Regions from separate parts of the Homo sapiens genome. Here regions 1, 2, 3, 5, 6 and 7 are each linked to region 4. The links are contacts of gene promoters, found by promoter capture Hi-C in blood cells and fetal thymus (Javierre and others, 2016). All regions are on one chromosome and are shown on one strand. Each heading gives the region's core, a stretch centred on a gene start or on the middle of the fragment in contact. The rest is flanking DNA. Distances are from core to core; before and after follow the strand shown. Region 1 overlaps LOC105379040 (a long non-coding RNA gene). Region 2 overlaps POLK (DNA polymerase kappa). Region 3 overlaps FAM169A (family with sequence similarity 169 member A). Region 4 holds the start of ANKRD31 (ankyrin repeat domain 31). Region 5 holds the start of FAM169A (family with sequence similarity 169 member A). Region 6 has its middle 79 kb from the start of FAM169A. Region 7 has its middle 60 kb from the start of FAM169A.

Evidence for each region. Contacts are between HindIII fragments. The CHiCAGO score rates a contact against its expected background, and 5 or more counts as called.
Region 1: a contact is called between a fragment that was not itself captured here and the fragment with the promoter of ANKRD31 in region 4, in 1 of 17 cell types (non-activated CD4 T cells). The highest score is 5.4, in non-activated CD4 T cells.
Region 2: a fragment that was not itself captured here is called in contact with the fragment with the promoter of ANKRD31 in region 4 in 1 of 17 cell types (neutrophils); the score reaches 5.7 in neutrophils.
Region 3: a contact is called between a fragment that was not itself captured here and the fragment with the promoter of ANKRD31 in region 4, in 1 of 17 cell types (naive CD8 T cells). The highest score is 5.0, in naive CD8 T cells.
Region 5: the fragment with the promoter of FAM169A here is called in contact with the fragment with the promoter of ANKRD31 in region 4 in 1 of 17 cell types (naive CD4 T cells); the score reaches 5.1 in naive CD4 T cells.
Region 6: a fragment that was not itself captured here is called in contact with the fragment with the promoter of ANKRD31 in region 4 in 3 of 17 cell types (naive CD4 T cells, activated CD4 T cells and non-activated CD4 T cells); the score reaches 7.4 in naive CD4 T cells.
Region 7: a fragment that was not itself captured here is called in contact with the fragment with the promoter of ANKRD31 in region 4 in 10 of 17 cell types (naive CD4 T cells, activated CD4 T cells, non-activated CD4 T cells and 7 more); the score reaches 21.6 in naive CD4 T cells.

The regions. Positions count from the first base shown.
Region 1 is chr5:74,960,862-74,963,716 of GRCh38, forward strand. All of the region lies in intron 1 of LOC105379040 (a long non-coding RNA gene), which reads left to right. Among named protein-coding and RNA genes, the nearest start is that of GCNT4, 90 kb to the right of the region's middle. The HindIII fragment of the contact is 3,710 bases long and covers 1-2,855 here.
Region 2 is chr5:75,523,910-75,526,934 of GRCh38, forward strand. All of the region lies in intron 1 of POLK (DNA polymerase kappa), which reads left to right. Among named protein-coding and RNA genes, the nearest start is that of POLK, 14 kb to the left of the region's middle. The HindIII fragment of the contact is 8,036 bases long and covers 1-3,025 here.
Region 3 is chr5:74,848,704-74,851,781 of GRCh38, forward strand. All of the region lies in intron 1 of FAM169A (family with sequence similarity 169 member A), which reads right to left. Among named protein-coding and RNA genes, the nearest start is that of FAM169A-AS1, 16 kb to the right of the region's middle. The HindIII fragment of the contact is 2,611 bases long and covers 309-2,919 here.
Region 4 is chr5:75,235,098-75,238,183 of GRCh38, forward strand. ANKRD31 (ankyrin repeat domain 31) reads right to left here and starts at 1,781. Exons shown (of 26, transcript NM_001372053.1): 1 at 1,486-1,781. The coding sequence starts at 1,589. LOC124901006 (a long non-coding RNA gene) reads left to right here and starts at 1,941. Exons shown (of 2, transcript XR_007058823.1): 1 at 1,941-2,269. RefSeq lists an enhancer at 1,502-1,671 and a silencer at 1,722-2,021. The HindIII fragment of the contact is 5,895 bases long and covers 1-3,086 here.
Region 5 is chr5:74,865,095-74,867,794 of GRCh38, forward strand. FAM169A (family with sequence similarity 169 member A) reads right to left here and starts at 1,293. Exons shown (of 13, transcript NM_001376049.1): 1 at 1,071-1,293. It overlaps FAM169A-AS1 (FAM169A antisense RNA 1), which reads left to right and starts at 799. Exons shown (of 1, transcript NR_134288.1): 1 at 799-2,181. RefSeq lists silencers at 740-909, 980-1,229. The HindIII fragment of the contact is 5,081 bases long and covers 1-2,418 here.
Region 6 is chr5:74,943,582-74,946,373 of GRCh38, forward strand. No RefSeq gene overlaps it. Among named protein-coding and RNA genes, the nearest start is that of FAM169A, 79 kb to the left of the region's middle. The HindIII fragment of the contact is 5,206 bases long and covers 1-2,792 here.
Region 7 is chr5:74,924,811-74,927,510 of GRCh38, forward strand. No RefSeq gene overlaps it. Among named protein-coding and RNA genes, the nearest start is that of FAM169A, 60 kb to the left of the region's middle. The HindIII fragment of the contact is 1,444 bases long and covers 602-2,045 here.

The DNA of each region.
Region 1 (2,855 bases), core at 75-2,574, 270 kb before region 4:
TGAGATGGAGTTTCGCTCTTGTTGCCCAGGCTGGAGTGCAATGGCACGATCTCAGCTCACCTGCAAACTCTGCCTCCTGGGTTCAAGCAATTCTCCTGCCTCCGCCTCCCGAGTAGCTGGGATTACAGGCATGTGCCACCATGCCAGGCTAATTTTGTATTTTTAGTAGAGATGGGGTTTCTCCATATTGGTCAGGCTGGTCTTGAACTCCTGACCTCAGGTGATCTGCCCGCCTCGGCTTCCCAAAGTGCTGGGATTACAGGCCAGCCACCACGCTCAGCCTGTGACTTGATTCTTATAATGACTGCCTAGTGTTTCATTGTATGTCTATATCATAATATAATGGACATTTAAGTTGTTCCTATTTTTCTGCTATTACAGCCACTACAGCAATTAACATCATTGCAGCATATTTTCTTGGTATTCATTGTAAGTGAGTATTCGGCATAAATTCCTAGATTTGGAATTTTTCAAATATTCCTGTAAGGTGCTACCGGTTTATATTCAGACCAACCATTTTATAGGAAGGTTCCTGTTTCCTCACCCTCTTACTCTTCACTGATATTATCTTTTAAATTTAAGATAATCAGTTACATAAAAATATCTTATTGTTTCAATTAGAATTTCTTTGGTTCTTGCTGAGAATGAGATCATTATGTTTATTGCACATTTGTTTTTCTTCTATAAATTATCTGTGTCCTTTGCCATCTTTCTATTAGATGGAAATTTCTTATTGATTTGTGTAGGCTTTTTATTTATATGGCTATTAATCCTCTATGTAGTTTCTCTAGAGTGTTGTTTATCTTTTTATTTTATTAAAATGTAAGGGTGGATAATACATTTTATAAGATTCAAAAATCAAACCTACACAGAAAGGTAAACACAGAGGAGTTGCATTTCCACCTCTGTCCCTCCACCTGTCCCTCCCAATCCCTTACATGGAATCATTTTCCTGTGCTTCATTGTGTAGATATAAGCAAAAATGCCTGTATAGTGTTTCTCTCCTTTATTTTTAAAACATAAAATGTAGCACATGATAAAAAATCTGGAAGAAACCTAAGTGTCCATCAAGAGACGAATGGATAAAGAAAATGTGGTACACATACACAATGGAGTACTGCCATAAAAAAGAATGAGATTCTGTCATTTGCAACAGCATGGATGGAACTGGAGGTCATTATGTTAAGTGAAATTAGCTAGGCACAGAAAGACAAACACCGCATGTTCTCACTTATTTGTAGGTGCTAAAATTTAAAATAATTGAGCACATGAAGATAGAGAGTAGAATGATGTTTACCAGAGGCTGGGAAGAATAGTGGGATGGTGGGGACTGGGGATGGTTAAAGGGGACAAATATATAATTAGATAGAATAAATAAAATCTAGTATTTGATAGCATCACAGGGTGACCACAAACAACAATAATTTATTATAAATTTAAAAATAGATAAAAGAGTATAATTGGATTGTTTATAACACAAAGAAAGGATAAATGCTTGAGGAGATGGAGACCCCATTTACCCTGATGTGATTATTATGCATTGTATGGCTGTATTAAAATATCTCATGTACCACATAAATATATACACCTACTATGTACCCACAAAAATGAAAAAATTTTAAGAAACCCTGCAAATCTAACCAAAAAAGAGGGACAGGCAAAAGATCTAGAATGTTTCAGGAACTCCTCTAAGAAAGTGCTTCTTGACCCACCCTCAACCCAATTATTCACTCCTGTAATACCCTGTATATTCACCTATCCAATAAGTGGAGTTACACTTACCATGTCCAATAGAAATTTTCTGGTTTTGGTACTCATATCATCATCACTTTCTTGTATTTATATCTATTTTTTCATATATGTATATACAATTGATGTATAAAGGTGTTTATCTCGGAGTGGGCAAGATTTCAGGTGATTTCTACCTTATCAGGTACTTTTCATATTTAAATGTTTACAGATTAAGAATACAAAATCTACAAACAAAAAAAATTCTTTCACAAAAGAGAAATAAATGTTCTGATATTATTTTTTTCACTTAATATTGACTTAATATAAACTACTGATATCCAGGTAACTGCTCCATATCAGTCCATAGGGATCTTCTTCATTCTGTTTTCAGCTGCGTGGTACTCTGTTGGTGGATGTACCATACTCTATGCTGGGCACTTGGGTGTTTACAATTATTTTATCATTACAAACAAAACAAATCAGTTTTTGCTTATTTCATTTTGTATCTCTGCAGTGTAGTGTATTTGTAGAATAGATTCCTGAGAAGTGAAATTGCTGGTCAAAAAGTTGTCACCTTTCTTTTTACTTTGTGATGATGACTTTCATTATAAAGAAGTTTTCATTTTTTGTGTTAATTTTTTCTACTTATTGTTTTTGGATTTTGTAGTGCCTTCTTTGGGAAGAAAGGTCTGCTTGGACTATAAATTATAAAGGCATCCTTTACCGTTTTCTCCCAAAGCATGCGCGCACACACAATCTTCACTGTGTATGGATTTCCTATTGTCTGTGATGTAAGAGTCTAATTATCTTCTCCCATAAGGATATCCCATAATACTTTACGCCTTATTTGAGGAACTTATCACCTTCTTCCTCTTTCTGCCTGGAAAGATAAATCTGTGTCAAATATTACCTCTCCTACTAGACAGTGAACTCCTGGAGAGCAGATATTATGCCTTATTCATCTTCACATACCTGATAGTCCCTACCACAATCCTGACTCATGACAGATGTTAAATACTTCCTTCTAAATTTAATAGAAAGTGTAGAATGCCGGCCAGCTTTCCAATTTTCAGGATAGAAAATGAACTTATATTGTTATTAGAGATGAAATCTGTGTTGGGATA
Region 2 (3,025 bases), core at 23-2,522, 290 kb after region 4:
ACCTGAGGTCAGGAGTTCAAGACCAGCCTGGCCAACATGGTGAAACCTCGTCTCTACTAAAAATGCAAAAATTAGCCAGATGTGCTGGCGGGCACCTGTAATCCCAGCTACTCAGGAGGCTGAGGCAGGAGAATCACTTGAAACCGGGAGGCAGAGGTTGCAGTGAGCTGAGATTGCGCCACTGCACTCCAGCCTGGGTGACGAGTGAGACTCCGTCTCAAAAAAAAAAAACAACAAAAAAAAACTTTCAGATTGTAAAAAGGGCAGATAAGAGGAAGCAGGAGTAGGAGGATGTGCTCATAGAGAATATGAGAACCTGTTTCATCTCTGTACTTTGAAGGTAGGGGTGGACAGTTCACAGAATAGGTTTAAATCTAGGAACTGAGTCAGTCCCAGGTGCCTTCCTTAAATACTTGTGGGTTGAATGACTGTCTTAACCCATCTGAAACCAATCTAGGATTAAAATTTTAGAAGACAGTGGAGTTTAATTGGCTGCTCTCCTCTCTTAGGCTCTTGGAGAAGTCAGTGCTGTCAGCAAACATCTGTTTAAACATGTGGAATAGCTGTACTTTGGAGAGCAAAAGTTATTTTAGTACTTTAGGAATATGAAGTAAATTACGTATAAGTTTATTTGCTTTTAAATTTTTGAGAAACTTCTACTTCCAGTATGGAGAAGTAAGCTCTTGCACATGACTGAAAACCTAGAAAAAAAAAACAAAAAAATCAATTACTTGTGGGGTCTGGAACAAAAAACAGATAGATTTTGGAGGGTATCAAACTTTGACAAAGCAACCCTTACAGAGTGAGATTCTCATTCTTTGCAGCTTTGCCTTGAGGGCAGGCACAGTAAGGCATAACTAATGTTCCAGTACAAAACCCCCCATTATTCTGTCCAAAAGAACCAGGGGAAGGGGGCCAGTGCTACCAAAGAGTAGGGAAGGCACCCAAGAAAAGAGAGAGCCAGATAATGGAAATTCTAAATGCTGTATAATAGCTTCACCTGACTCTCTGACTTGCATAGTCTACATGCATGCCCACGGCAAATTGAGAGCAATCTGAACTGAGATCTGAGTCTCTCTCCTTACCAGACATAGAGAGTTTTCAGTTAGAATTTATTTGCCTGCTAAAACAAAAATATTAACACTCTTCAGAAAGATAAAACAGAATCTAGAGTTCTTACAACATAGCATTTACAGTATCGAGGATATAATCTAAAATTACTTGATATATGAGCCAGGGAAATGTGAACTATTTTCAAAGAAAAGACAAGTCAACAGATGGTAACCCCAAGATGATCCAGATGTTGAACTATCTGACAAAGACTTTAACACAACTATTAAAACTGTGCTTAACGAAGTAAAGAAATATGTTTGTATCATTATAAAGAAAGGAAATCTCAGCAAAAAAGGAAAATATAAAAAATCAAATGGAAACTGTAGAACTAAGAAATACAATATCTGAAATCAAAATGATGTTACTAGATGGACTTAATAGCAAAATGGAAATGACAGAGGAATTGGTCTGTCAGTTCGAAGATAGAGCAATACAAAATAACCAATATGAAGAAGAGTAAGGGAAAAAATTAAAAACAACAACAACAACAGAAAAGGAAAGTCAGGTACCTGTGGAACAACAGCAAAGGAGTAATAACAGGAGTAACAGGTAATTGAACCTCCAAAGGGAGATGAGAGAGATTATAGGAAGAGGAAGAAACAATAGTAATAGCCACAACTTTCTCAAAATAGGAAAACATACATAGAGGAACAACAATTTGAGTGATCATGGCCTTAGCAGAAATAATGGAGTCTAGAAAACAATGGAGCAACATCTTTAAAGTACTGAAAGAAAAAAGCTGTCAATTCAATTCTATATCTGATGAAGATATCTTTTGAGAATGAAGATAAAATAAAACTGGCATCTTAGGTGTAGTTGTGTATTTGGCATACTGATTAAGAATGCGGGCTCCGGAGACAGAATCTAGATTTGAGTTTCAGCCTGAGTACCTCTTGTGATCATGGGTGAATTATATAAATTCTCTAACCTCAATTTCCTTATGTGTTAAAGACACTTAAATGAAATATCTAAACTAATGAGTAGCAATGAGAGGATGCTTCTTAAGCACTTAGTATCTGCTTGGCATATGGTAAATTGTTGGAAAACATTAGTTACCATTTATATATGCATGTTTTTAGCTTTCATAGTAAATATAACCAACCTTTATAGAATTTCGTATTTTATATTTTTATCTGTTTCATTTTTGTTCAACTGTAGAGAGGTTGGCTGTATCTTGAAAAGGGAAGAGTGAGACTCCGTCTCTTAAAAAAAAGAAAAAAGAAAAGGGAAGAAACCACTGACAGTATTGTAAAAGAGAAATCACTTTTACTACTGCTTTGACTTCAGCAAAAACAAGATTTAGGAAGCTCTTATTTTCAGAAAAGGAAATGAGAGGGGAAATTTTTCTCTCTTAGAAAATAAAAAACCTCAGCACCTAATTAATAAGATTTTTACTATGTAAATTAAACTTTATCCAATCATTCTTTGTCCCATTTGGTACCCTTTTGTTTGTTTTGTTTGTCTCCTTATTTCTTTTTCAATATTTTTCATGGTATTTTAAGAGGATGATTTAAACAGAGATAAACTTCTGATTTAATGGGTTTTTTTTTTGTTTTTTTTTTTTTCTTTTTTTTTTGGAGACAGAGTCTCGCTCCGTCGCCCAGGCTGGAGTGCAGTGGCTCAATCTTGGCTCACTGCAACCTCCACCTACCAGGTTCAATTGATTCTCGTGCCTTAGCCTCCTGAGTAGCTGGGATTACAGACGTGCACCACCACAACCGGCTAATTTTTGTATTTTTAGTAGAGACGTATTTTGCCATGTTGGCCAGGCTGGTCTCGAACTCCTGGCCTCAAGTAATCCACCTGCCTCAGCCTACCAAAGTGTTGGGGATATGGGCATGAGCCACTGCACCTGGCCTAATGTGAATATTTTAAAACCTAAAACCATTTATTTTCTTTTGAAGTAAAAGGT
Region 3 (3,078 bases), core at 364-2,863, 390 kb before region 4:
CTCTAAATGCTTGGAATTGTTTTTTTTGTTTGTTTTTGAGTCTTGGTTAATTTAAGACTATGTAAATTGCAAGCCTAACAGTGGTTCTGCTACTATAGTTTAGAGAGGCAGCGGAAGGGTGGTAAAGTTCCAGAGAGAAATATAGGTTGCTATGATAAATCCCTTGCTTCTCTCTCTTTTTTGTTGTTTTTAAGCTTCTGTTCTATGTTATGTAACTGTAAAGCTGTCAGATCAAATTCTGTCAAGTACTTTATGCTCTGTCCATGAGATAAACCAAAAGGCCTAACTAGATTCTACATGAATGAGAAAGCTTAATGTAGCCTTAAGTGAACTCATCAAAAAACTGACACAGAATGGACAGCGAAGTGTAAAAAGTGTCCAAACTAATTTACAAATTAAGCGAATGGTATGCTCATTAATCCAGGGTAAGCTGTATAAAAACATAATACCAAGACCTCTTATATAAGAGATCTAAGATCATGAGCATCTGCTATATTGTATCTACCTTTTAATAATTCCTTTTTCCCAAAAAAATTATGTATTTGACAGAATGGATAACCTTAAGAAAAGCATGAAAAGAGTTAGAAAACAAATTTATATTATTGTGATTTTTTCCCTATTTATTGTTGATTACTGGATGCCAACTATATTCTGAAAAGATGGGAACATATTCTACATGTTCAGCTCGTAAGTTATTTCATGATTCTTACAGGTTACTGCTATTATTTGGGGGCTTTGTGGAGAGAGGCAGACCCAAAAAGAAGTATGTACACTATAGAGCTGAAAGAATTCTCAGGGAAAAAAATAATTATCTCAACCAATCCAATTCATGATCCTAACTCTCACAATGGTCTCTCCAACACCGAGAATAGGTTAGGTATCCAGGCAACATAATCAGCAATGCTCTCAACCTTATTTCTGAACCTTATTATGATTCCTCTCTTGATCCCTCCCTTTTCTGTTTTCTAACATCATTTCCTTCCCTAATTAACCTGGGCCCTGTACTACATCAGCTCAACTAATCCCTTTACCTTACTTTTTCTTCCATCACTCCTGCCCTACACAAGGTCCTAAACGCTAGATTCCTCTAACCACTCATCTTTTTCTACTATGAGAGCCGAGTTTTTGAATATGACAAAATAACTGCTACAACTATCAAAATCTCAGATGGGCCTCAACACTGTTCAGCAATCCTTTTCTGTTTTCTGGGAAAGTAAAAACATTTAATTATGTATGGGTTAGGACGGCCTATAAATTAGGTAATAGAGCAGGAAGTTGAATGGGATTCATATCTGTTGGCTCTCCTTATTTCAAGCAGGAAGCAAAACCATCTTTTGAAGTTATAACCACTAATCCGATAGTGGACTATGTGCCAGGTTCTATTCCGAACACTTCACGTGTATCACCTGATGTAACTTTTATCTAAAACCCATGAGGTGGGTGTTTTAATTCTCTTCACTTGGCCGAAAAGGAAACAAAGACACAAAGTGGCTGAGTAACTTGTTCAAGGCCACACTACTAGTAAGCAGCAGAGCTAGTATTTGAACCCGGCAGTCGGACTCCGATGTCTGTTTTTTTCCATCACATTGGTATGTCTGAAAGCACAGCATCTCAGGCAGCCCTAATACGGTTAAAGATTGCTTAATATATGTCAGGGGAAGTGTTCCAAGTATTCTTTCCAACTCAAGGTTTAATTCTCTCTTCATGTACAGGAAAATACTCCTAGATAAGAAATCATTTAAGCATGAAGATACTGCGTATTTGGTATGTTTTAGGCCTTCAAAAGCAAAATCCAGCTATATTGCAAAGGATTTTGAGAGTGTGTGAAAGCTGGTATAAAATACTGGTTAAGGGAGTGTATTCTTGAGCCAAACTAACAGGATTACTAGCTATGTAACCATGGGCAAATTACCTGAACATACAGAACACATAGAGGAAAATTCCTTCTGGTTGAGAAAGGAATAAACTGCTGCAACTAATAACTAGAAATCAATCAAAACTTTTGCATCTAAAAAGAAAAAACTCAGAGGCAAATTATAACCAGTATGACTTATACAATCTAATACCTTAATACAGATGAATAATGCAGTGTTTTTTTTAAAAGCTAAGATGCAAATAAATAAGCAAAGGTCATGAATAGAAAATTCATAAAACAGGAAAAACAAACCACTTCTTTTTTTGAAAAAATGCCTACTTGCATTAGTTTTTTGCTTTGTTTTTGTTTGTTGTTAGAGACAGAATCTCACTCTGTCACCCAGGCTGGAGTGCAGTGGCACGAACATAGCTCACTATAGCCTCAAACTTCTGGGCTCAACAATCCTCGTACATCAGCCTCCTGAATGGCTAAGAATACAGGCACATGCCACCACACCCAGCTAAGTTTTTTAAAAGATTAATATGTCTGTACAGCAAAGTCTGGAAGGATACATTATAGTGTTAACAGTAATTACTCCTGGTAAGGTGAAGGAAGAAGAGAGAGGGCCCCAAGGCAGGAAACACAAGAGAAGAAAGTCAATTCCCCTTAGGGCCTCCTTCCTCCAGTAGCTCACTTCGTAGTGCAGTCTCTCTTGGATACGGCCTATCTTGTGATAGGCAAAATTTGGGTTACATGCCTCCATCCTAATTCCAAGGGAGACAAAATATCAATTTTTAGTGTTCCACCCTGGGGAGCCAAAGCAGGACTCATAAGGCTGAAATGAAACTCATAAAGTTATTTCAAAGGTGCTCAACAGTTGGAACACAAAATACATACTGAATTACCACACCCAGGAATGGATGATAAATCATTATCTTAATATCTATATTCTATGAACAGGAAATAGAGAATGCTACTTACTTGCCTCGAAACATTTGCAAAAGCCTAACAATAAATTAATAGATATTTAAGAGAGAAAGAAATAGAAATGGGCTTGTAATTGAAGCTTCCACATGATCCTACTACATACTGTAGTACAGTAAAGTAATACATTTGCCTGTGGAATATGTCAGCAACTCTGGTACTTCACAACCCAGACTACTAAATACTCTTTATAAATCAGCAGTGTACAAAGCTCAGGAAAGAAAAAATAAGCACTTAAA
Region 4 (3,086 bases), core at 531-3,030:
TATATCAGAAAATATTTTAATATCCTATAGGTCATTACCTCCTTATTGTTCTTATTTTTCAGACTTTTCCTAATTGCTCTTATTTATTTTACGATATAAACTTTGGAATCAGTTGTCTAGTTCAACAGAAAGTCTTGCTGGTACTTTTTTTTTTTTTTTTTTTTTTGAGATAGAGTCTCACTCTGTCGCCCAGGCTGGAGTGCAGTGGAGTCATTTTGGCTCATAGCAACCTCTGCCTGTTTCTCATTACAACCAAAAACTCCGAATGAATATTTTTTAAAAACTACTCGAGAACCTTGAAAAGTAAACAATAGCAGGTAGATTGGGGACTGAAGTTGAAATCTTAATAACAACCCATTTATTGACGAGTTTCAGTTTGTTTTCGGTTTTTTGGTTCTTTTTTGTCTTTCAGCTTTGAACCATCCAGTGGGCACAGACAGTAAACCTATTTTTATCCAGAAGACCAAGGAAAATGACCCCTGCATGCCAGAAGGTATAGGACAAAGCCCAGGGCTTTATGTTGCTTTCTCTCTCACCTCCCAGCCCTGCCCCAAGGCTGGCCCTAGCCTCAGAGCAGACACCAACCATGGCAACTGGGGAACATAAAACTCAAGAGAAAGTGTCTACCAGAGGAACTGGGAAAAGGGATCGGTATTGCCTGAAAAGTGTGGACAGAATCCCCCTTTTTTCTCTCTTTTCTTAACTCTGTGCTAAAGGCTGTCCCCCTTGTAAGGAACTGCTGTATAGTGAAAAGGCTAACACTCAAAGAAACCTGTCTTTCTGATCATATGAACTGGCAAGTGGGTATGATGAGGAAAGGGGGCAGGAGAATCCTGGAGAAGAGAGAGAGGGAAAGGAGAATGACCTAATTCTGTGTACGATCCAACTTAAGTCCCAGACACAGCCCTGAGCACATATGAAGCAGACCTAGTGGCCTCATCCCTGCCCTCTTTTCCCTGTGTCTAGCACAGAGAATATGTTAGAGAAAGGTTTCGATAACCTGAAATACCGACTTTTTTGGATTCGTATAAAACTATTCGTTTCCAGTTTGGCAGGGACCAGTTTCCCCATCACACATTCTTTTCTTGAGAGAAACTGTTACCCATTTTCCTAGAACTGAGCTACGAGTCTCTTGAAGCAAAATGAAGTCTCCTGAAACAAAATGCAGTTAAGTTCAGACCCAAGATCTTTTTTGCTTGTGCAAAAAGACTTAAAGCCCCCAAAAGGAAAGCCTTTTGAAAAATGCTATAAAGCCACCTAGTACAAACCTCATTTTATCCCTAGCTGGTTGGGGGTAGGTGGGAACAGACTGTGTTTGCTTATTTACAAGCTCTCAGCTCAGGCACGGCTGCCCCACAAGGCTCTGATCCTGCCCACAAGCACATGTTCTGGTCACGATCTCCACTCAAAACTCTGACCCCCTCAGAGGGCACCTGGGCCGCCCTGGCGCGAGGGTTCAGGCACTGTGGCCCTAATGATGGTCACCTTCTCCAGGGCAGCTCCTTTTCTTCCAGGTCGCTCTCCGTCACTGAACCCTCTATCACAGTTTCATCACTGTCCCAGTCTGGGGCCTGGACGCCTTCCTCCATCTTTGCCTCACATTCAAAGTCTTTTTTACCCTCCTCTAACTCCCTCTTGCCCGCAAACAAAAAAACGCTTTGAGGGCCAGGGGAAATTGTGAATTAAAAATAAAAATAATATAATCGCAGCAGGAGCCGGGACTTGTCGCAGGGCTGCTGAGGAGGACGCAGGCGGCCGCGAGCGCGGCGGGGTAGCAGTCTGCGAGGCGGCCCGCGGGTCCCGCCGCTCGTCGCAGACAGGGGGCAGCCGCTCGCCACACGACGGAGCCCTGCGCAGCGCTCGGCCCCGCCCCCAGCTCCCGTGGCCGGAAGTGGGAGGCCGCGCGCGCGCGCGCAGGCCTACTCTGGGCGTGGCCTGCCGCTGCGTGTTTTTTTCACGGTTTCTCATTCTCGGTCGCTAGGCTTTGAGGGTGCTGGGGTTGCTGCTGCAGAGACCAGAAAGGCAGGCGTGGCGCACCCAGAACTCAGACCGAGCCTGCTTAACACCCTTGGCCGGGAGGGTGACCTGCCATGCACCTGATGCTTGTGAGCCCCAGATACGGGAAGAGCTGTCAGCTCCTGCCCGCCCCAGCAGCCCTGGCATTCTGGAGCCAGAATGCGACCTTAGACCTAAAGAGAGTTTTTGCAGCCCACCAAGTGCTTCCTTTCCCTTTAATCCCTTGACAGCCTCTCCTCAAGTGTCCTCTGAGGTAGACAAAACAGATACGTTTATCAGAAGTTTTAGCTCATCAACTAATCTCAGTGATGTATTTTGCATTTTTTTTTTCTCTCAACAACGCTTTGGTTACCTGAAATACAGATTATGCAGGAAAGGCAGGATAAATGCTTTATTTTTTCCTCTTTTATCAATTTTTATAATAATAGTAATGCCTAGCAACCTCCAAAAGTAGTCAATTGCGTTTTAATGAAGTACTAGAATTTTATATATTTGATGTGTTTCAGTCTAGTTGAACATTTTTAATTCAAACTAATTCAAAACAAAGCCAAGTGAGCTTCCACTTGCCAAGTGAGAAGAAGATTCAAGAAAAGACCAAGTTGTTTTCCCATAGCAAGTGTTTAGTATTCACCTTGGAGTCTCCAGCATCTAGCACATATAAAGTCTAAGTTTTGTCATAAATGGATGGAGCTAGAGATTTCTGACTTCCCAATTCATTGCCCTTTTCACTATATGGAGTAGCTTTGCCATTATTATCATTATTATTATTTTGTGTTTTTACTATGTATATTCAAGCCACTGCTATTTAAAATGCTTGATTGGTGATTATCTTCTAAACTTAACTTGAGGCTGGGGGTGGTGGCTCTACCTGTAACCTCAATGCATTGGAGGCCGAGGCAGGAGGATTGCTTGAGACCAGAAGTTCAAGACCAGCCTGGGCAACATGGTGAGACCCCTATCTCTGCAAAAAATTTGTTTTTAATTAGCAGGGCATGGTAGCATGGGCCTGTAGTCCCAGCTACTCAGGTTGAGGCGGGAGGATCGCTTGAGCCCAGGAGTTTGAGGTTATA
Region 5 (2,700 bases), core at 43-2,542, 370 kb before region 4:
AATCCCTGTCTGTGATGCAATGACAAAATATAAATGGCTTGGGTATAATCTGCTCAGTTCGTAAGTAGTAATTCGCAAGAAGCCAACGAATTAAAAGAATTCCCAAATTCTCAGGAACCTTGAAAATGACAAATTGTGTCACAGTTCTGTGAGAATCACAATGAAAACTTTCCCTTCTGGAAATTTTTTAGAAATATGTCCCTCCGGTCCCAATCCCCCAAAAACCCGTACACACGTTTTAATTTACGTTAGGAACGGCTCTCCCAGCGGGGGAAGGTGACCTGCATCAGGTGGTTATCTTCGAATCCACCCGATACGATACCCACGCCGCTTCCCAGACGCTGAAAAGCCAGTGAGATGCTTCATCCTTTCTCCCCAAGGACAGTCATGGGAGTCAGTGTAATCCAGACCCCCGAGCCATAAACCACCCAGGGTTCAAGGCTTCACCTCCTGAGGCACAGGCCTCTTGAAAAATGGCATAATGGAGAGCTGAGAACACAATTAGGACAAAACTGCAACGACCAGCATTCCAGAGGAGGGAGAATCATACAATATCTGTTCCAAAAGTAGTTACAGGTAAAGGAAGGCGGTCAGAGCATCTCTGGAGGCCACCTGGTCGGGTGAACCGAGTCTAAACGCTGAAGTTCCACACCTCCCCGAGTCCGCGTCTCCCCAAGCCAAAGCAATCAGCTCGCACGCCAAGCATCCAGGTGGGGAGAGGGCGAGGGGAGGGGGCGGCAAGCCGCAGCTGCGAACCGGCCCGCGGCGGAGGCGAGCGAAGACGGGCATTCCCTCACACAAAATGGTGGCGCCGAGGCGGAGGCCGGCGCACCTGGGGGCGCCACACGCCCTACGGGATCCCCGCAGACCGCCGCCAGCTGGACGCGAGCCCCGGGTCCAGGCGGCCCGCACTGGTCTGCGCCAGGCCCAGCCCGCAGGGGCCGCCCACAGCCGGTGGCCCGCGTCGCCGCTCGGTGTCCGCGGGTCTGGTGCTGGCGGGGGCGCGGGGCCCGGCGCGGCCGTCTCGGCCTCACCCAGCGGTCCGCGCCGGGGAGAGGGAGCGCACTCACCTCAGACGCGCCCCGGGAGCCGCTGGAAGAGCCCGGGAAAGGAGGCGGAGCCGCGCGAATGAATGGAGCCGGCGGCTGCTCGCTGGCGACCTCCGGCCGGTCCCAGGCCGCACAGCTCGCGGCTGCCAGGGCGAGTGCGGCTGCCTCCCGCTCGCCCCGGACGCCCGGCTCCTCGTCGCGGGTCGGCCGCGGCCCACCGTGCCCTCCGACGACGTGACGCACTAGCGCCGCAGCGCCTCCAGCCTTCGCTTCCGCTCCGCGCCCGCGCCCACCGCGAATCCCCCCGCCCGCCAGCGCGGAGCGGCCCCTCCTCGGAGCCTGGGACGCCGCCCTGCCTCCCTCCAGCCCCGGCTTTCAGGCGCCGGCCCGGCAGGTGCGGGCTTGGCCAGCCCGGGGGCGTCACGCGGCCCCCGCCTCGCCACCCGCGCCCCCTCTCTCCGCCCCGGCCGCCGTCACCCGGCAGCGCGACGCCCAGCTCAGGGCAATGGCCTGGTATTAAAGAGTGACCTTGGCTTAGATATAAAAATAGATGCGGTTAAGCCGCGGGGGCTGCAACGCTGATTTTGCGTATTCCTTTAATGCCGACCTTCGCAGGATTCTGTTCGCATAGCCCGGTGGAGTTCTCCAGCCCCGCGTAGGCCCTCCTGAAATTTACCCAGAGTGGGCGCGGCCATCCCGGCCTCGGGACAGGGGTGCAGAGGGCACGGGCGAGGACCGCCGGCCTCCGCCCCACCACTTTCATCCTAAACCTACTGCCACTTAGGTGCATGCAAGTTAGAATCGTGGGCTGCTTTCACAGTCTACAGAAGTCCTAGAGCCCGGACTTTCATCTGGAGATGTCAGGGAAATACCACATTCCTGCGCTGACCTTTTCTCTTTCACCGTTTAACCGGTACAGAATAACCCTGACCCAGAAAGACAACAGGGTTCCATCCGGCTTTCCTCCCGTGCCTCTCCCAGCTCTATTCTACCGTCTTATGGCCTCTGGCGCCTTTGCTAATTACACACTCCTACTGAAAATTAGCCCTCCAGCATTTAAAACATGATAAATTGTCTTTAAGGTAATGCGTATTGTAGTCTAAATATATTTAATAACTGTATTGAGAAACAATATTGTATCTAAGTATTAATGTCAAGACTTTCTTTTACTCATCATCCAAGAACCGTAGTATTATGTTCAGCTCATCCAGAAAAGTTGAAAATTGCTTCTTTCATTCCTGGGAAATATTTAGCAATCACAATACCAACTTTCACGAATTTACTAATGATTAGCAAAATTAGCAAGATCAAAAAATACTTCAAAGAATGCTTGTTGATATAGATATATTTGACCCTGATTTTTAAAAAAAGCTTTTCTGCCATATAAGAATCTATTGTTTCATTTGTATAATATTTAATTAGCCAAAATCTTTACTATTACACATCATTTACCATTTTAATGAAACTTAATGAATTAGATTTAATAGAGCAGGAATTTTGGGTAGTTGGGTTCTACCCATAGCCAGTGATGAATGAAATTATATGACTTGTATTTACATTTCTAGAGCTATGTGTAAGTAGGAGTCCCCAGGGTAATCCCAAACAATTGCCATTTGGGGAAGCTTTGGCTACCAGACTATGCCCTACAGAT
Region 6 (2,792 bases), core at 252-2,751, 290 kb before region 4:
ACAGACATAATTTGTTACCTAAATATAAGAACTACGAGCAACAGTTTCCTATCACTTGTTGGCCATTTGATGAATTGATTCTTGATGATTGACACTAACAAACTGATTACATATGTGTGTATACACACCTTAAGGGAATGGAAAGATAGCCGTGAGAGAAGAAAAGGATGGTAAAAGAAAAAAAAAAAACACAACAGTGATGTCTTTCAAAGGCAGATAACTGAGTTCTATCTGTAAACTTCCTTTGCTTGTGAATTCATTTGTAAACACTAATCCATATCTAGTTCACTCAATTTGAGAATATTTAATAAGAAAAACTTCATTAATTAAACACACTTGTTTTATTTTTTGGAAAAGGAAAAGATAAATGTAATTATAAACCCACAGTAACAAACCATAGAAAAAGTTAAGTATCTTTCCCAAAGAATGAGAATAACTTAGGAGAAGAAACTAAAACATTAGTAGGACTCTGAGAAAGTATTTCCCAGCATTTTACAAGCTCTAGCAGCCTCTGTAGGGTTGAAAAGGTACTACCCATCACCAGGGTCATGGCAGATACTCCTACAAAAAAAGGCAGGTGAGCAAGAGAGACGCACAGCACATTTGTTAACAAAGTTTTATGTGACATGGGAGCTTTTTGAAATGAAGACCCAAAGATCCAAGGAAAACTGTGTAGTTTTATGGTTTTCTTTCACGGAGAATGGACAAGCATGTAGAAATGTGATTGGACAAACGATTGAATGAGAACGAACTGAGAGGGAACCCACTAAGACCTGTTTGTGCAGATTCTTCCTGGCCAATCTGTAACATTTCTTCCTTTGGGGGTCGAGGGCAAAACACCTGTCATTTCGCAGCCTTTAGGGGAGAAGGGAGAAGGTCAGACAGTAATATTTCTTGCTTTGAGGGAGAGGAGTTCTACTTTCTATGGCTTACTTCAGGAGAGAAATGAGGGAAAGTGAAGGAAGATGGGAGAAGGTCAGAGGGAATTTTTTGCTCTTCTAGGGATGGAAAAATTCCACTTCCACCCTCTTAGGGTCTTGGCTGGGTCTGAGAATTAAATTAACATAATATAGATTAACAGGTGAAAAACATACAAATTTATTTAATACAAGTTTTACATGGCAGGGGAGCCCTCATGCATAAATGAAGACCCAAAGAAGCAGTTAGAGTGAGTTACTTATATACTGAATTGGACAAGGAATTACAAGTTGTGAAGAAGCAACTAACTTGTGTGGAGAGGCTTTAAAAGATAAGAGTGATTCTATCAAAGTCTACAGTATTCTCTTGGTTTTAACTTTTCATCCCTGAAGATAAGGATGCTGTCTTTCCTCCTAGTACAGGGAGAGTGTCTTCCACACTGGAATTTCATCTTCTGCTCTTAAGAAACAGCATGAAGGTCAAAGTGATCTTCTGGCATCTGCTGTTTTTCAGGTGTTTTTAGCTTAAACAGTTAACATGCCAGAATATCATATTTGAACACCTTAACTTCTGAGGCCCTTCCATCCTCCTTCAGTCCAAAGTACCCACTATGCCAAAGTACCAAATTTTGGGGTATCACGCTCTGAGCTCTAATACCTCTTAATTAAATATAGTGATGGTCATTTTAAAACATACTATTTTTATACAAAAATATGTAGGTATTAGAAAATATACACTTTAAAAAATTACTTGCAATTCCACTTTCCAGAAAGGATAGAATTTGCATTTTGGTGATTATATTTTCAGAATGTTTTCTATATGGGGCTTTGAGGCAGAGAAAAGAAATGAAGTGGCAGAGAGGATATCAAATATTGTGATATTTTGAGAAATCCTTTGAGGAATTTTTACAGATATATATATATAAATATTTGACAATTCCAAATTATTTCAGAGTAATTGATAAATCCAAAAATTTGCACAAGAAAGAGTAAGACCTAGAAGATGATGAAAACATCACAGAGAAGGAGTGGGGGTAGATACCAGTCATGAGAGGTGATCTATTTGTAAGTCACAAAACTAATACTGTTGTCTTGACTGGTATTGAAAATTCAACAAAAGAGGAGGAGGAGGTGGAGACATAAAATGAGAACTATCAGAGTGTAATTTTGAAACTTGTTTCAAGTGTGTGGGCAGGCAGTGGTCGGGGAGGGCGCTCTGGTATATCAGTGCACTCCATACTTGAGTTGAGGTTAAAAAATGCATGCATATCACAATAGCAGATTGAAACCTTATACACTGAGCCCTTGGAGAGCAGAACAAAGAGGAAGTGGAGAAAGGATTCCACCACCAGGTGATAATACTCACCGGTCCAAAGGGAAATAAGAGAGGGAAAAATCATTGCATTCAATCAAAACCTTATGCTCTGATGCCAAACTTACACTGCCCAGCTAATGGAAGTGGTTTGACCCATTGACCTGCAGGGTACAACATTAATACTTTAAAGACTCATCACATGTCCTCTTGAGAAAAGAGTGCACTCCTTCCAGGATGCTTCTGACACTTCACTCCCCGTTCCAGTAGCAGCTGAAAGATTATGCCTCTTTTGACTGGGTTTCCTTGTAACCCTGACTAAAAACTACCTTAGGCTTGAGGGGTTGGATGGACTATCTCCCTGGGTCAAGCCGGGAGTCAGAGGTTCTTAGTGAATTCAACTGAGATTAAATTTTGCTATGTAATTAAATCACAGCAAAAACTACAATGATATGGAGGAGAGAAGACAGCCTGTGGTTTGGAACATAACTCAGTCTGCTATTAAAATGCATAGGGTGTCTATAGCTAACAACAGTGTACTGTATATTTCTAAATAGCTAGAA
Region 7 (2,700 bases), core at 74-2,573, 310 kb before region 4:
ATGAAATAATGACTAATAATGACAGAAGCATTACAATCTAAGCACCATGAGGACCATGCTAGATTTTTTTTTTTTTTTTTTTTGAGGCAGGCTCTCACTTTCTTGCCCAGGCTGGAGTGCAGTGGTGTGATCATGGCTCACTGCAAATTTGAACTTGTGGGCACAGGCAATTCTCCTATCTCAGCCTCCCAAGTAGCTAGGATTACAGGAGTGTGCCACTATGCTCAGCTAATTTTGTAATTTTTGTACAGGTGAGGTCTTTCCGTTAGCCAGGCTAGTCTCCAACTCCTGGCCTTAGCAATCCTCCCACCTCGGCCTCCCAAAGTGCTGCTGGCATTCTAGGCATGAGCCACCACTCCCAGCCAAAAAATCCTTCTAATCAGAAGTTCATTTTGAGGTATTTACGTTGATGGTAGTGTTTTGTTGTCACTGAGCACAACTTTGTCCCCAACCCTTTTTAACAGACACAAAGTAGACATCAAGTGGCTAAGGTGGTATACTGAATTTCTACTCTTCTAAGATTTTTAAAAATAATCAAATATTTGTAAGACAGCTAGCAACCTCATGAGCAAAAAAAAAAAAAAAAAAAAAAAGATCTGAAAGCTTTGTAGGATAAATTCAGAATTCTTTTTTTCACCTCTAGATGGTGCAAACTAAAAGTAATTTCTGTTTGTCAGGGTTTAGCTATGATAGATGAGTCCTAATACCTTTAGGTTTACTTTTCCTGTGTAACTATATAAAAGGCATTCCTGGCCTTATTTATCACAGTTTGCTTAGTTTATTTCTGAATACACTTACTTATGACCTATAGAAGTCTTAATAAATATGGAAGATCAATTTTACTAAATGCTCCTAATTGTCACTTTTTTTTTTTTTTTTTTTTTTTTGAGATGGAGTCTGGCTCTCGCCCAGGCTGGAGGGCAGTAGTGCAATCTCGGCTCACTGCAACCTGTGCAGTAGAGACAGGGTTTCACCATGTTGGTCAGACTGATCGTAAGCTCCTAACCTCGTGATCCGCCTGCCTCGGCCTCTCAAAGTGCTGGGATTATAGGATTACCACCACGCCTGGCTCAGTCTCAGGCATTTCTAACAATGCAAGAACGGCCTAACACAGCCAGTACCTCTCATCCATGGAGTTGTCGCTGCTTTCCTGAGGGCAATGTTTGTCCTTCGGTGGCAACTTAATAACTGCTGACTGACCTTGAACTCTCTCTCAGAGCATATGGAATGCCATCAGTTTATCTTCTACACAATTCAAAGTATTACTTCTAAATGTGAAGAAGTAATGGGCCATATTTTCCACTTTGAGCATATGTTGTAAAATGATGAGATAGCTCAGAGTTTGAAATCTTAACCAACTAATGCCTACTATAAGCATTTCCCTAGGAAATTTATATCTGTATAACACTGGTCTGTAGGACAAAAATTAAGGAGCAATTGATGTGATTTTGACAAGAAGCTGTTCCACAAATTCTATTTTTTAGTCGTTAGCCAACTGAAATAAGGTCTTAAAAGCAATATTCTGGGGACAAGCCCTAAAGACCCTCCAAGTACATTGGGATCATATTGTCTGGGCCAAACAAGACAATAATATCTATGCCATCCCAACTGAGTAAGTTTATATATGTGAACCACAGACCTGACTGAAGACAATTCCAAGAGGTTGAGCATTTTACAAAATATTTTATCTCTCTGGAATCTGAAGGTTTCAACATTTAAAAATTTTCATGTTAGATACTCATATATGCCAGTAAATTTGCATTTGTATATGATTTGAACTATGAGGTTTTGAACAGATTATTTCAACAAAGCAATGTACTAGTTCTGAAATTATTCTTATTTTAAATATCATTTGCATTTCTGTAAATGGAAAATTATATAAAAAATTCTAGCTCTTTTGACTGTCATTAGTATTTGACTAACACTGACTCCCCAAAGCCCTAAAAGAAAATAGCAGGAGTTGAAATTTCAGTTGCATTGGAGAAAATATGTACTTTGTTCCCTTAGAAATAAAGGAGAGCATGTTAGATGACCAGCCATGAAGAAGCTTGTCTCAATATGTTTTCTTTTGAAGCTCTAAGATAAAATAAGAGCTGTGCATATTACTGGGTATGAAAACCATCATGAACAAAAATCCAACACTGAGTGTTGCCGAAATGATACCAGTGTTGGTACAGAATTATATGGACAGGATAGGGGGCATTCATTATCCCAGATACTTCACTTTCCATGCTCAGCAGTGTGAACATGTAAGTAAATTGTAACTTATTACTTGCGGGTCAATTGATTTCCCACTGGCACATCTCTGGATTCATTTCTATTGGGTCTCCTCTTAGACAGTTTTTACAGAGCCTCAAAATGCGTATAGCCTGGAGGAGGCCATCAGTGTCTTAATTCACAACCTGGTGTGTGTGTGTGTGTGTGTGTGTGTGTGTGTGTGTGTGTGTGTGTGTGTAGAGAGAGAGAGAGAAAAAAAAGGAGGAAGAGAGAGAGAGAGACAGAGAAAGGGACGGAGAGGAAATTGTTCTCTTTCTCCTACTCCCTCAGAAGAGGGGGCATGGAGCTGTGGGAAAGGTGGGGCCCTCCAGGAGGCTAGAACCCTGCACCACCTGAAAGAGTCAGGAGGGCCCAAGTGTCTCGTCTCCTGAGGGTGTGTGTGTGTACACTACCATCGTGTGTCCAGGAGGAGATTCCTGTCCT